2 separate regions of the Homo sapiens genome follow, and region 1 is linked to region 2. Evidence: promoter capture Hi-C in 16 types of primary human blood cells and fetal thymus (Javierre and others, 2016). All regions are on one chromosome and are shown on one strand. Each heading gives the region's core, a stretch centred on a gene start or on the middle of the fragment in contact. The rest is flanking DNA. Distances are from core to core; before and after follow the strand shown.

Evidence for each region. The method cuts DNA at HindIII sites, captures the fragments that hold promoters and counts their contacts. A CHiCAGO score of 5 or more calls a contact.
Region 1: a contact is called between a fragment that was not itself captured here and the fragment with the promoter of PHACTR3-AS1 in region 2, in 1 of 17 cell types (M2 macrophages). The highest score is 5.5, in M2 macrophages.

What each region holds. Positions count from the first base shown.
Region 1 is chr20:59,746,216-59,752,721 of GRCh38, forward strand. PHACTR3 (phosphatase and actin regulator 3) reads left to right here. Exons shown (of 13, transcript NM_080672.5): 3 at 1,543-1,620. Among named protein-coding and RNA genes, the nearest start is that of PHACTR3-AS1, 120 kb to the left of the region's middle. RefSeq lists enhancers at 4,389-4,890, 6,113-6,442. The HindIII fragment of the contact is 1,828 bases long and covers 1,031-2,858 here.
Region 2 is chr20:59,626,759-59,633,115 of GRCh38, forward strand. It overlaps PHACTR3-AS1 (PHACTR3 antisense RNA 1), which reads right to left and starts at 1,531. Exons shown (of 2, transcript NR_040513.1): 1 at 1,340-1,531; 2 at 1-191. The region is part of intron 1 of PHACTR3 (phosphatase and actin regulator 3); the gene reads left to right. The HindIII fragment of the contact is 11,450 bases long and covers 1-6,357 here.

The DNA.
Region 1 (6,506 bases), core at 695-3,194, 120 kb after region 2:
TAAATATCCTCAGGGAAGCCACCCGGGAGGTCAAGGATGGGATGGGTTTCCCCAGACAACTGCCCCCCAGTCAGTCCCCCGCCCCAGGCCTGACTTATTCCTCCTCGCCCACTTCTAGACACTTGCCATCTGTCCTCCCACCTGTGCTGGCATCAGGCAGAGGCTGTGCCTGTCTTGCTCATGGCAGAATCTCCTGTGCCTGACATGGTGCCTGGCACACAGTAGGTGCTCAGTAAATGTGTAAGGGGTTTCCATAGATTGAACACCTGATCACCATGGCCTGTTCCCCCAGTGGAGCCCCACCTGTGAAGGCTGCAGGGCTTCTGCCCTCCGTGACTCCCCAGCACCCAGCTCAGCACTTGGCACATAGCAGGTGCTCAGGAAATGCTTTTGAGTAAGTGAAATAATTCCATTGCCAGTGCCTGTTTGTCATCTGCCTCCCCAACTAGACATTAAGCTAAGCCAGGTGGGCTGACTCTGTCTGTTCCCCGGCAGCTGGCAGGGCCCCCTGCACACACAGAACACTGATGGACTCTCTGTGATCCAGGGTTAATGGCAGGATCACGGAGCAGGCCCTGGGGTGGAAATGAGCAGGGCGGGCACTGCTTTGGGCCCAGTGGTCGGAGAAGACCCAGGTGAGGAGGCTGCATTGAGCTGAGATGTAATTGGTTCATTGGGAAAGGCGGGGAAATCATCACAGCAGTGGAAACAGCCCTTGCAAAGCTGCATCTTTCAAAGAAAGGGTTGAGGTGGTTATGTAGTCTTGTATTTGGAAATTGGGGCTCACCTGTAGGCAAACAGTTTTCCTGACGGAAGGAAGAAGATGATTGTGGAGCAGCCCGAGGCCTGCCTGTGAAAGAAGGGAGAATGGGACAAGGTGGTGGCCGTCGCTCAAGAGTGTTTTGCTCCGGGAAGGGGAGGCAGAAAGGGCTATTCTGAAGGCGGAATTGACAAAGATTTGGCAAATTAGGCTTGGTGGAAGGGGACTGGGGGCTGGCCTCCTCCCTTCCTGTCCATCTGGTAGACTGGAAGCTTTTAACCTGGGTTTATTGGAAGAAGCTCTAGTGGGAGAGCCGCACAGGAGAATCTCATCTGTGAGTGGATGTTAAGAGCGGCCAGGAGGCACTTCGCAAAGGCGAACAGGAACCACGGAAAGGAGCCCGGGGTGTTGGCGGCAGAGGGAGGGCACTTTCCTTGGTTGGTAATTTAGGGAACATTTGGTGAAGGGCAGGAATGGCTGGTGAGAGCTAGCTTAGAGAGGGGCGTTATATGTGCAGGGGCTTTCCAGATAAATCACAGAAATGATCGCTGTAGAATATCTACTGCGTGCACTGCTCTTTAGCTGTGGTTTATGCACATTGCTTAGCAGCACTCTTGGTAAGAAAGTTGGGCCTCGCCAGTGGACTAGGCCCCCTAACCCCGAGGCGCCTGCTAGCTCAGTGTTTTTGGTCTGTAAACTTGAGCCTGGCATTGGCTGTGGCTTGGACAGGGCCCAGTGACACCTTTGCCTGAGACTCACCTGTGTGTTTGTGTGTTGGGCAGCGCTGGAGAAGAAGATGGCCGGCAGGCAAGGCCGAGAGGAGCTCATCAAGAAGGGGCTGCTGGAGATGATGGAGCAGGGTAAGTGGGACCCGTCCCTGGCTTGGAAGGGCACGGTGCTGGGAATGCAGAATGGAAAGTCTCACATGAGCCCAGGAAGCCCATCAGAAACAGTGTAGAATCCAAGGAGGGCCGTGTTCAGATGAAGCCTGCAAGGTTGGAGAGACACCCCATGTCAGGAGCCATTCCATTGGTCCAGCCCCCAGGGGCACGGGAGACCCCATTACTGAGCTGAAGAGCTCCCCCTCATGGCACCACTCCTCTCTGGGGAATGTCTAACAGAGCTGGGTGTGCATGAATCTGGTGGTTTATCCCAATTCCTTTAAAGTGGTAGCAGTGGTTTTTTCAGCATTAATTTTTTTTTCATATTCACATTTCAGTCCTCCATTTGGGCAAATTATTTTTAATTCCACTATTACCTACTCCCCCTACCACCATGTAGGAAGCATTCAGGACATGCTGGGGCGGGGTGGGATATTGTGCACGCCCTGTCTCATTGGTCTTCCCAGCATCCCTGGGGAGAGAGGCAGCGGCTATCCCACTTGCAGACGAGGCGTGGGAGGGTCTGGGTGGTGACTGCCCCAAGTCATTGCAGCCTGAGAGCAGAGACACAGAACAAATCCTGATCTCTTGGTCTCTGGTCTAGAGAGCTTAATCTCAGTGGGGTCTACATAATCATCTTTGTTTCCATCTTTCAGAAAGGCCAGTTATTATCACTCATGCAATTAACTGAACAGAGTTCTTTAATTCCCAAGTCTTTCTCTTTGTGATGGATTCCTGGAGGTGTGAGGCCCAGGACTTAGATGCTGACACTAGCCCTTGGTGCCTTCCGGTTCCCTGAGAGGCTAAATCTTGGTTAGGAGGTTTCACAACACCTCACTGCCTCTGGAAGACTCTCTGGAGCTGGACCAAGCTCTGGCCTGCTGATTTGAGGAATCTGGCCATGCATAGCCAGTTTCCTGAGGCTTGCATGGATATATTGAATTCCTCTCTCCCCACTTCAGCCTTAAAATATTACTAGTGTCTTTGTAATTTGGCCCAAATATCAGGAATTAGGAAGGAAGCTCATGAAATAAACGAATCCAGATTTTATGCAGCCGGGCCTGTCAGCACACAAACCCGATTGTGGGCCCAGGCTTTTGTCATTGTTTCCTCTCTTTAGACTCGAAGAGTGAAGTATTTTGATGATGCTATTTTTAGGGGAAATCTACATGGGAAATTGCTTCATAGTGATAATAAAACCTTACATGTGCGAGGAAAGCTTGGTGTCAAGTCCCGTGGCACTCAGATGGTTAACGCCGTCGTGACGCTCGGATTTGGCGGAATGCGGTTGCTGAGCTAGAAATCTGGAGGATTTTCACTGGGATGGGACAAAAAAGTGTCAAACTCCGGCATTTTGAATATGTTGCCAACAAGCATACCTTTGGATCTTAGGGAAGGAGAAAGGAAGATGAAAACAATGCTAAGGCCTTTTCTCATCTATTCTAAAAAAAACACTACTTTTGTTGAGTAAAGAGTAAGTATATAGATTTGGTTCCTCTCAAAAATGAAGCTATAGTTTGACTAATTAAAGGGGAAAACTTCTAGGAGCGTTGGCTTTTTTCCACTCTGAATTTTTGCAAGATGACTTTGTCTGATGAAGTCATAGCAGAGGCTGGAGACGAATGCTTGGCCGCGGCCAGGCTGACAGTGTGGCTCTCACCCTGCTGCCGTGGGAGCCTGGTCTCTGGCTTCCGTGCCTCTGACGGCGACATCACACACCCGCAGGCTTACAGAATCACTTTAGATCAGGGTCGGCAAACCTTTTCTGGAGAGGGTCAGATAGTGCATATTTCAGGGGGACGTGCAGTCTCTGTTGCAACTACTTGTCTCTGCTTTTGTAGCGCAAAGGCAGCCGGAGACAAAACATGCATGAGAGGGCATGGCTGTGTCCCAAGAAAACTTTATTTATGGCCACTGGCCTTTGAATTTTATATAATTTTCATGTGCCACAAACTATTATTTTTCTTTTGATTTTTTTTTCTTTTGTCAACCATTTAAAGATGTCAAATCCAGGTGGGGGAGCTGGATTGGTCCCCACATTGTGGTTTGCTCATCTCTACCTTCCATACTCTCTCTCTTGCTAAATGATTGTGGACCAGGGACTAGAGTGGCCTGAAACACAGTCTCTTTCCTTGAGAGGGAAAATGCACTCCTAAATTGATGCCATGACATTTTATTGAGGGCCCACTCTGTGTCAGGGTCTGTGCTAGCTGCTGAGGACACAGGTGAGCAAAATACTGTTCTGAACGCACATCCAGTGGGGCCATTAGGTAATCCCACAAAAAGCCGGCAACTCACGACCACAGTGAGTGCAGTGAAGGATGCAGCACCCTAAGATCATGAGACAGGACCTGACCTGGTTCTCGGGGGGCCGGGAGATGTTTGAGTCAGGTCCAAAGGTGGGCAGGAGGACCTAGGCTGGTTCTCAGAGTCTGTTGCATATTAGGATCACCTGGAGAGATTTAATAACCCTCCACCGCTCAGGCAGCAGTTAAATTAGATGCGCTGGGCGTGGGACCCAGGCAGCAGTGCTTCCTCATCCTCCACAGCTGATTCCGACTTTGATGCAGGAAGGTTGAAAAGCCAAGAGACAGAAGGAAGCGGGGAGTGACTTCCAGCCCACAGGAGCAGCAAGCACAAGTCCCCGCGGTGGAAGGGACCTTGAGATGGTGGGTTGGGTTGGAGGAAAGGAGGAAGGAGGAAGCAGGAAAGGGAGAGGGGCTTGGGTCAAGACGCCTCCCGTCTTCCCTGCCCACACACCGGCTGGGGTGGCAGAGGCATGACCACGCTGCTGCGGGAGCCTGGGGCGGCCACAGTGCGAGTGGGTGGGATCTGCGAGGAGCCCGAGTGTCTCTGCAGGGAAATATCAGGGACCGGGCAGCAGGGGTTGCTCTGGGAGGGGACTTGGACTTGCTTTTCGCAGTCGACTCTTCTGTGCTGCTTGAATCCTTTACTGTGTGCCACCTGTAATCAACCTGTAATCAACGTGCTGTAATAACGGGATCCACGCAGATGCTTGGCCACAGGCTCCCGGCTAAATCCTTCCCTGCACCGCAGTTTCCGTCCTGCACTAGCTTCAAAAATGTCTTTTCTCACTGGGTCGACCTGAGGTCAGACCCTGTCTGTCCCTAATCCTCCTGGTGCTGGGTCACCGGGTCCTCTTGCAGGATGACTGGAATTGTTGGCGGTGGCTGTGCACCTGCCCTCTCCGGCTCAGGGGAGGATCAGGCTTGAGGGCTGTTGCTCTGGGGTAGGCACGCAGTGCCGCCGCCTCTGCTGTGGATGTGAGGACTCTCCAGGGTGAGGAGCAGAGGCGCTTTCCTGGCTTTGGGGTTAAGGAACCGGCTTCAGGGTTAAGGAACCGGCTTCAGCCACCGCCTTCCACTGCTGGCAGGGACGAATCTGCAGCCGGGGGCGCCCTCCTGTGGCCGGCCAGGCTCATGAGCCTCCCTGCAAGGTGGACGGGACTTCATGCAGGACAGGCCCTGTGAGGCTGTGGGAGTGGATTGTCAGGGACTCCAGAGCCTCATTTGAGCCCCCTCGAAACTCACATTTGAACTTCCTTGGCCAGGACAAACCCCAGGATTGCCCTCTGCCCTGCACACGCGCATGTATGCACACACACATGTACATACACATTGGACACCCTGGAGCTTGCCCTGAAGCAGGTGGGCAGCCTGGTGGAGTGAGCCGGACTCTGGGCAGGGCCAGCAGAAGAGAGCCCGCCAGCTCCCGGGGGTGAGGCAGCATCCAGGGCATGAGTTTGCTCCCTCTGGGGTGTTACTTTATGATCGATGGTCTGTTTTATGAACCACTGTGACCCCCTCCCCTCTCGTTCCTGTGACTCTAGTCGCCAGCTTGGACCTAGGAAGGACCCTGCTGGTGGCGTTATTACATGACTAGATGTGTGCAGTGGAGCCCGTTGTGCCCTGGGGAGGGCAGAGGGGACCCCTCTGATCTCTTCAGTGCTCCTTCCACCCTCGTCTCGGATATCCGTGACTAAGTGAGGCCAGACCAAATCTCTGGTACAAGGGGTCCCCTTCCCCAGCCCCCTTGCCCTGGTCCCCAGCCCACGTTTCTCTGTGCTAGACACTGTTTATGTTCTGAATGACTTTCCTCCATCTCCCTGTATGCGTTGACTTGGCATTTTCTTAAATAATTTAAGGAATTTCCTACCCCGTCATTGGGTATAAAAGAAGAGAGTTTATTACTCTGTGCTGTGTTCAGTGACTTGAGATTGACTAGGCATTCTTTCCTCAGGGAATTGGACAGTGACAAATCAAGTCTATCTGGTTTCCATGTGGTAGGAACGCCGGGGGACACATGTCTGCACGTGTGCACACACATGCACGTGCACCTGTGTGCACCCACCTGTGCTTGCACTGTGCACATGTGCCACGACACACGTGTGTGCCTGCGTGTGCATCTGTGAGTGTGTGTGCATGTCTGCAACACGTTCCCTCTCACTGTGGCTGCTCAGGTGCACTGCCCCGCGCTCCCCTCTGCAGCCCTCAGAAGGAGAGTGGCCGGGCGGAGGCTGGCCTTCCAGCGAGAGGAGCAGGGCCTGGGCTCCCACCGCTCCCCCAACCCCTCCCCAACCAGCGTTTCTTAGCAACGGCCCTGCCACCAGGGCTATTTTGGGAACTGAAACTTTTCACTGAACATGATTATGAGCTGGAGCTCTGACCGCAGCCCAGAGAAGTCCTGCAAGAAGTCCTTGCAGAAAACCTGCAAGAAAGCAGGGGAAGGTTCAAAGACTGTGGAGGGGCATGGTGCTTTTCTGAGTCTGGAGACCTCTGGGCCTTCCAGGTTCTATGTTCTGACCTTTTTATAGTGGCAGTTGTGATGATTTTGATGATGACGAT
Region 2 (6,357 bases), core at 281-2,780:
AAGGTCATTTAGTCAGAGATGCTGGTGGTTTGGAGCAGGTTGTTCACAGCAGATGTTCTTTGTGCCTGCATCACAATTCCTTGGACCAGCTCTGCCTTGGTCTTCAGCTGTGGCTTCAATCAACCAGCATGTTGGGTGATGAGCGCTGTATTGGAGCAGGTGGCTACACTTTCAGGAATGCTGCAAGCTGGCTGCAGTGGGAAGTATTTACACCATGGCAATTGGCAAATGTACATATCAGCTCCCTTATACCACCCAAACACTTTCCAGCACAGCACAGCCATGAGCCCAGTGCTGTGGATATTCTCCCAAGCATCAAAGTGCAGCCAGGACATGAGGGGAGCTAATGTCTGAAGGACAATCCTCAGCTGACGAAATGGGAGTAAACATCCCAGGCATGCATCCTTTAGGTGGGTGCTTCTTGGAGCTTTCAGAGAATGCAACCTTGCTGCCTACAGCTGTGACCCTGGAAATGCACGTGTGTGGGTTTGCCCTTCCTCCCTCCCTCACTCTCATTGCTCCCTTGCTTCTGCTTCCTGAGATACCTCCCAAATAAGCTACCTTCACCTAAGCCCGCCTGCAGCTCTGCTTTTAGGAGAATCCAATTAAGATGGTGGTAGAGCTAGATGTGGTGTGAGAGGGATCAGATGGCTGGGATGAGACAGAAGAGTCCTGGATGACTCCAAGCGTTCCAGCCTGAGCAGCTGGAAGGATGGAGAGGTTCTGGCGGCAATGGGGAGGAACCATTGAGATGAGCAGGATGGGGGTTGGGCAAATCAATGCTCTGTTCAGCTGTGGACAGGTTCTGTTTGAGAGACCTATCAGATCCCCAGGTGGAAATTGTACCTGGAGTTAGGGAGAGGTGTGTGGTTGGATAGAGATATCTGGGACTGGACAACACTGATTAGGTCAGGTGCCCACCTGCATCTGTGATTCAGTTGTGCCCTCCTGCTTAGGAAGCGTCTGTGTATCTATGTATGTATCTATCATCCATCTATTTATCATTTATCTCTCTTTTTTATTTATCTCTCAATATATCTATCATCTATAAATATATGTATATTCTAGCATCTAGTCATCAATCATTTATCTATTTTTATTTATGTATCAATATATCTATAATCTATTTTTCAATATATCTATAATCTGTCATCCATCTGCTAATCGATCATCTACCATTATCTATCAATCTGTGTATCTATCGTCTCTCTCTCTGTCCATCCATCCATCCATCTATCCAGGCAGTGCTTGCTTCCTTCTGCCCCCTCCTTAGCCCATCCCTGCCCAGGAAAATTCTCGTCCCTGCTCAAATGCCTTCAGTGACAGGAAACTCACCAACCTCTTAAGGCTTCGGCATGGAAGTTTCCAACTCATGTGGCCACTCCAGAATGCTGTCCTCCAGGGACTGTGTTTCTCTCTCATGTCCTCCTCCCAAGATTTATTTACACTCCTCACTTGCCAGGAGAGAGTACTTGGGAGCTCCGAGCCATGCGTGTTCCCTGGCAGGGTCGCCTGTGTGCTGGGGAAGAATGGGCCCAGTCATGGGGTGGAGACGCCCCCCAGCTGCAGCCCTGGCTCCCGAGCAGAGGCGGCTTTGTGCTTCTCGGGGACAAGGGTTGCCATTGAGGCAGGCCAGGGATGCTGTGCAAGCTAGCGATGGCTGCAGGCTGAAATCGGGCATTTCACAGAGAGCAAGCACTGCACTGTCCCCGCAGCCTGCACGTGAATGGAGGCTTTGGCCCTCGGAGTGCAGCCGTGCATGGGGCCACGTGCAGGCATTTCTGGCTCCTGGCTCCCAGGGAGAGAGGCGAGCCCTGTTCTCTCCCCGAGTTCTGTTTGACAAAATTCACAAAAACACAAAGAAACAAAAAGTACGGGAGAGGATCAGTTCATTCTCCTGACTCCTGGTTGGTCTCAAGACCTCCCCTGTTGCCTGTGCTCTGGAAGATTCCCCATAGTACCTACTAGGTGGGCCAGAGAAGGATGGATTTGTGGGACCCTGGAAGGCTGGGAAGAGGACTGAGAAGCCACAGCCCTGCGCTGGGAAGAGCCACGGAGGTTAGATCTTGTTTTTTGTTTGTTTTTAATACAATTGTTCACACTTTCTAAACTTTTTTGAAATAATTTTAGACTCACGTGGGGGTTGCAGAGCTTCCCTCAATGACAGCATCCACCTTTCCATGGTTCACTGGTTGGCACCAGGAGGTGGACATTGGTACAGTGAGGTTAACTAAACCAACTAAACCAGAGGCCTTAGCGAATTCCACCAGGTTTTGCAAGCACTTTTGCTGTTTTTTCAGTGAATAATTGAATGAAATTTTATCACACCTATAGCTTCACGACAACCAGGTGAGACTTGACTTTTAAATAATGAGGCGCCAGGCCCCTTGGCTCCTGAAGTGGCATGGGCGACGTGTGTGGATGCTGACTGGATGCCCACCTGCTTCCTTTTCTCTACGTTGTGCCCCCACCATGCTCCAGTGGCAGGGGCAGCCTCCTCCTGGCCCCCAGGCCTCTGCTTCTCTGGTGCCTGTGGAGGCTCAAGCCTTTACCCCACCTCCCTTCTTCCCAGGAAGGCCCTGGCTGCCTGAGAAGGCCCAGCCTTCCCCTTCTCCCTCCGCTGTTCTGGCTGAGCTCATCTCCTGTGGCTGCCCTAGCATGTGCTGCAGACTGGGGGATTCCACAGCAGAAACCTACTCTCTCGCAGTGCTGGAGGCTGGAGGTCTGAGATCAAGGTGCCAGCAGGGCGGGTTCCTTCTGAGGGCTGTGAGGGCAGGACCCGTCCCAGGACTCTCTCTGTGGCTGTGAGTGGCCGCCTTCTCCCTGGTTCTCTTCACATGATCATCCTGCCCTTCCAGGGTATGAGCTCCATGCCTGTCCCCAGAAGATCTGGAGGCTTCCATCTTCTGCTCCTTATCAGACAATGGAGCGGAATAAACACGGTTGCCTCTCTGGAATTGGAGCTTAGTGCTCATGAAATAAAATTCTCTTAATCTCACAATTGTCCTCAATACAGTTGCAGTGGGTGGCACCGAATGAGTGTCGTGCTTGTCAAGACAGCCACTGTGGCCTTCCGTCTTCCCACTGACTGATGGCAAGTCACTAGAAGGAAGCACCCAACTCCCCGTGATGGCATTAAATGACACCCGTGGGTGTGGCTGTAGACCAGGGGTTCTAGGCAGCCAAGGGGGTTCCATGCAGCCAAAGGAAAGAAGAAACTTTCCTGCAGAATGCATGAATATAGGGCCAGGTCCTAAAGCCCAGCCCACGGGCAAGTGTGTCCTGGTGGTTGCCACTTTCCAGTCAACTGATTAGTGTCAATCATGACACTGATTTCCTGGCAATGTGTGAGATGATTTTAGGTGGTAAATGAACTATTAATTTTATAAAGAACGTTCATATCAGGTATATGTCTGTTTAATTTTTCTTTTTTCTTTTTTTTGAGATGGAGTCTCACTCTGTCCCCCAGGCTGGAGTGCAGTGGTATGGTCTTGGCTCACTGCAACCTCTGCCTCCCAGGTTCAAGTGATTCTCCTGCCTCAGCCTCCCGAGTAGCTGGGATTACAGGTGCCCACCACCACACCTGGCTAATTTTTATATTTTTAGTAGAGACAGGGTTTCACCCTGTTGGCTAGGCTGGTCTTAAACTCCTAACCTCAGGTGATCCGCCCGCCTAGGCCTCCCAAAGTGCTGGGATTACAGGCTTGAGCCACCGTTCCCAGCCTGTTTAATTTTTCATTAGAAAAATATTGCATTTCCATTAAAGTAGACGTCAAGTTTTCATTTTAAACTTTCTTAAGAAAACATTATATTCATTTTAGACCAAGTGGTTCTATTAGAGCAACATCCATAAGAGTGGTGACGTGTGAGTGAAGTTGGGGAGACACCGGGTGGTGCAGTTACCCAGCACCATCTAGAGGAAGTACCACTGGGGTGGGCGGTTACCTGGCACCATCTAGAGGAAGTGCCACTGGGTGGGGGTCCCTTCACAGAGGCAGGGTCCAGTCCCGGCCACCCTCAAGGAGCTTGTACTGTCGAAGTGGGGAGGGGGACATGAGAAATGTTGACTCAGGGGCAGAGGGTTCTTAGGCTTATCAAGGAAGCTCTAGGATTCTCGGTGTTCTAGGGGATTCGAGGAGGAAAGTTACACCTGATGGGTAGACAGGGGTGGTTGGAGGGATTTGGTAAAACGTTCATGAAGAAGGGGTGGGTCTGTGGGGTTTCTGGAGTTGAAGTGACCACCACCAGGGATGCTGGCATGTGGAGCTAGCTTCATGGCTGTTAGCTGTCATTGTGGAATGGAAGTTAAAGTGTGCGTTGAGCAGGGCTGAAAGAGGCATAGACCTCCCATACTGGGAGAGAAGCCATGCTCAGGGAAGAATGCCCAGAGGCTAAAAGTCAGGGTCAGATGCCCATCTTAGGGGCCCTTGGTTGCCATAATTATCAAGGCAAGGTCCTTGGATAAAGTCTGGTCCGGTGCCTCTGAAACTTCTATGTGCATACATGTCACTGGGAGTCTGGTTAAAATGTGGATTCTGACGCTTGGGTAGGGCCTGAAACTCTGCATTTTTAATGAGCTCCTGGGGGATGCTGCTCCTCAGATGCCCCGCTCTTCTGTCCCCTAGCCCCCAGCAACAGCAAACACTTAGTGCCTGCCTTTCTGCAGGGACAGGGGAGGGAGGTTTGTTTGCAGTGACAGTTTTTGGGTAGCTATGGAGGGAGGAGAGAGGTAGGACTTTGTCTTGGTCCAGTTTACAGGGGCCTTGACAGAGGCAGGAGGGGTGGGCAGGAGTTGCCAACTTTTATATTTTGGTCAACTAGGGATGTTTAAAAACAACAATGAAGAAAAACCCGAACATCCTTGGTTTCACAACAGTATAATAATAACACTATTAACACCAGTATTTCCCAAAAGAAATGGAATTTCAAATCCAAAGAGTCAGGAAGGCCATATACTCCAACAGAAGACAGTCTTTTCAAGGACACAGAGCCAGCCCCCAAAACACCTCACTGCATTGTCCTCATTTTTCAAAGGACTTGGGAAACATCACCCCAGGCTGGCATGGATGACTGGGCTGAGGCTTGGGGGCTGCGGCTGTATGAACGGGAATGCCTGTGGTCCTCAGAGCTGAGGTCTGTGTTCCCAGAAGCCCCTGTAGAGTGGCATCTGGCCCCGGCCTGTGGTAGCCTCTGTCCTTTCCCAGGAGAGAGGTTGCCAGGGCCTGAGCAAACACTGACCTGGAGTGTCCCTGCTTCTGAACCTGCCTCCCTATCGTCCTCACCTTGTGGTGTACGGGACGTGTGGGGACTGTATCATCTGGGCTGTGGCTGGCGGCCTCTCGTCTAATGCTACCACATGCCCTTCATAGGCCATGATGAGCCATGGCAGTGCTGACTGTGTTCTACCACTGCTCCAGGTTCCTGAGATGCTCACATCCTGGGATGTGCTGGGGTTGAGCACCAAAGCTAGGGGAGGTCCTAGTAGCCCACTCCTGTTCCTCAGTCCCCTTGCGTCTGGCTGGGAAAAGGTGCACCTCCTCCGTCTCTGTCCACGTGGAATTGACCATCATCCTGCACAGTCTCTGCCCCTGGTAATTGGTTCTCAGATGGGCTCATGACTCAGGCTTCACGAATGAGAATCTGTTCTAGGACTTCAGTTGAAGCGCTTGGAAAGAGTTGTTTTCCCTCCACAAGAAGTCACAGAGCTGGTCGGCTGTGGGCTTGGAGTGCTGGTGGCCATTTTCCCCAACCCAGCTGGAGCCTGAGAATGGAACTAGCCCAAAGGAAAGCTGAGCAAAGACAATTTTGAAGGTTGATTTCCCGATGGCATTATTTGCATCCCTGGATCCAGCGTGTGTGAAGCTGGCGCACCCCCGGGCTTCTCAGTTAAACACTTCCTCCCTTTCAGGCTTCAGCAGCTTTGATTGGGCTTCTGCCATTTCTGATTATTACAGGGACTTAGAGGAAGGAAATGGCTTTGCCCAGATCACAGGGCTCATGAAAGTGCCCAGGCTGGAATGCAAATGCCCACCTACTTCCCCTCACATCACTCTCCCTCACCTGCTTTAAGTGCATGCCCAGTCCCAGGGAGATCTTCCCATCACTCTTTGGGGATTCTGCCTCACTGAAAGCTCTTGAAGCTGCTTCAAAGTGGAGTATCATGGTGTTTCCCGGGAGGGTGGTTGCCGGGTGCTGAGAAAGACTGGCCTGCAGTGCTCTTGCTTTTGCACTTCCGTCCCCCACCTTGATCCTGGGGTGCACGGGGGCAGGAAGGAGAGGAGTGTGGGAGTTGATGGGGAGATGAGAGGAGACATCTACCCATGGCCTCTGCTTCTGGGAGGACCTGTCACACTCCCA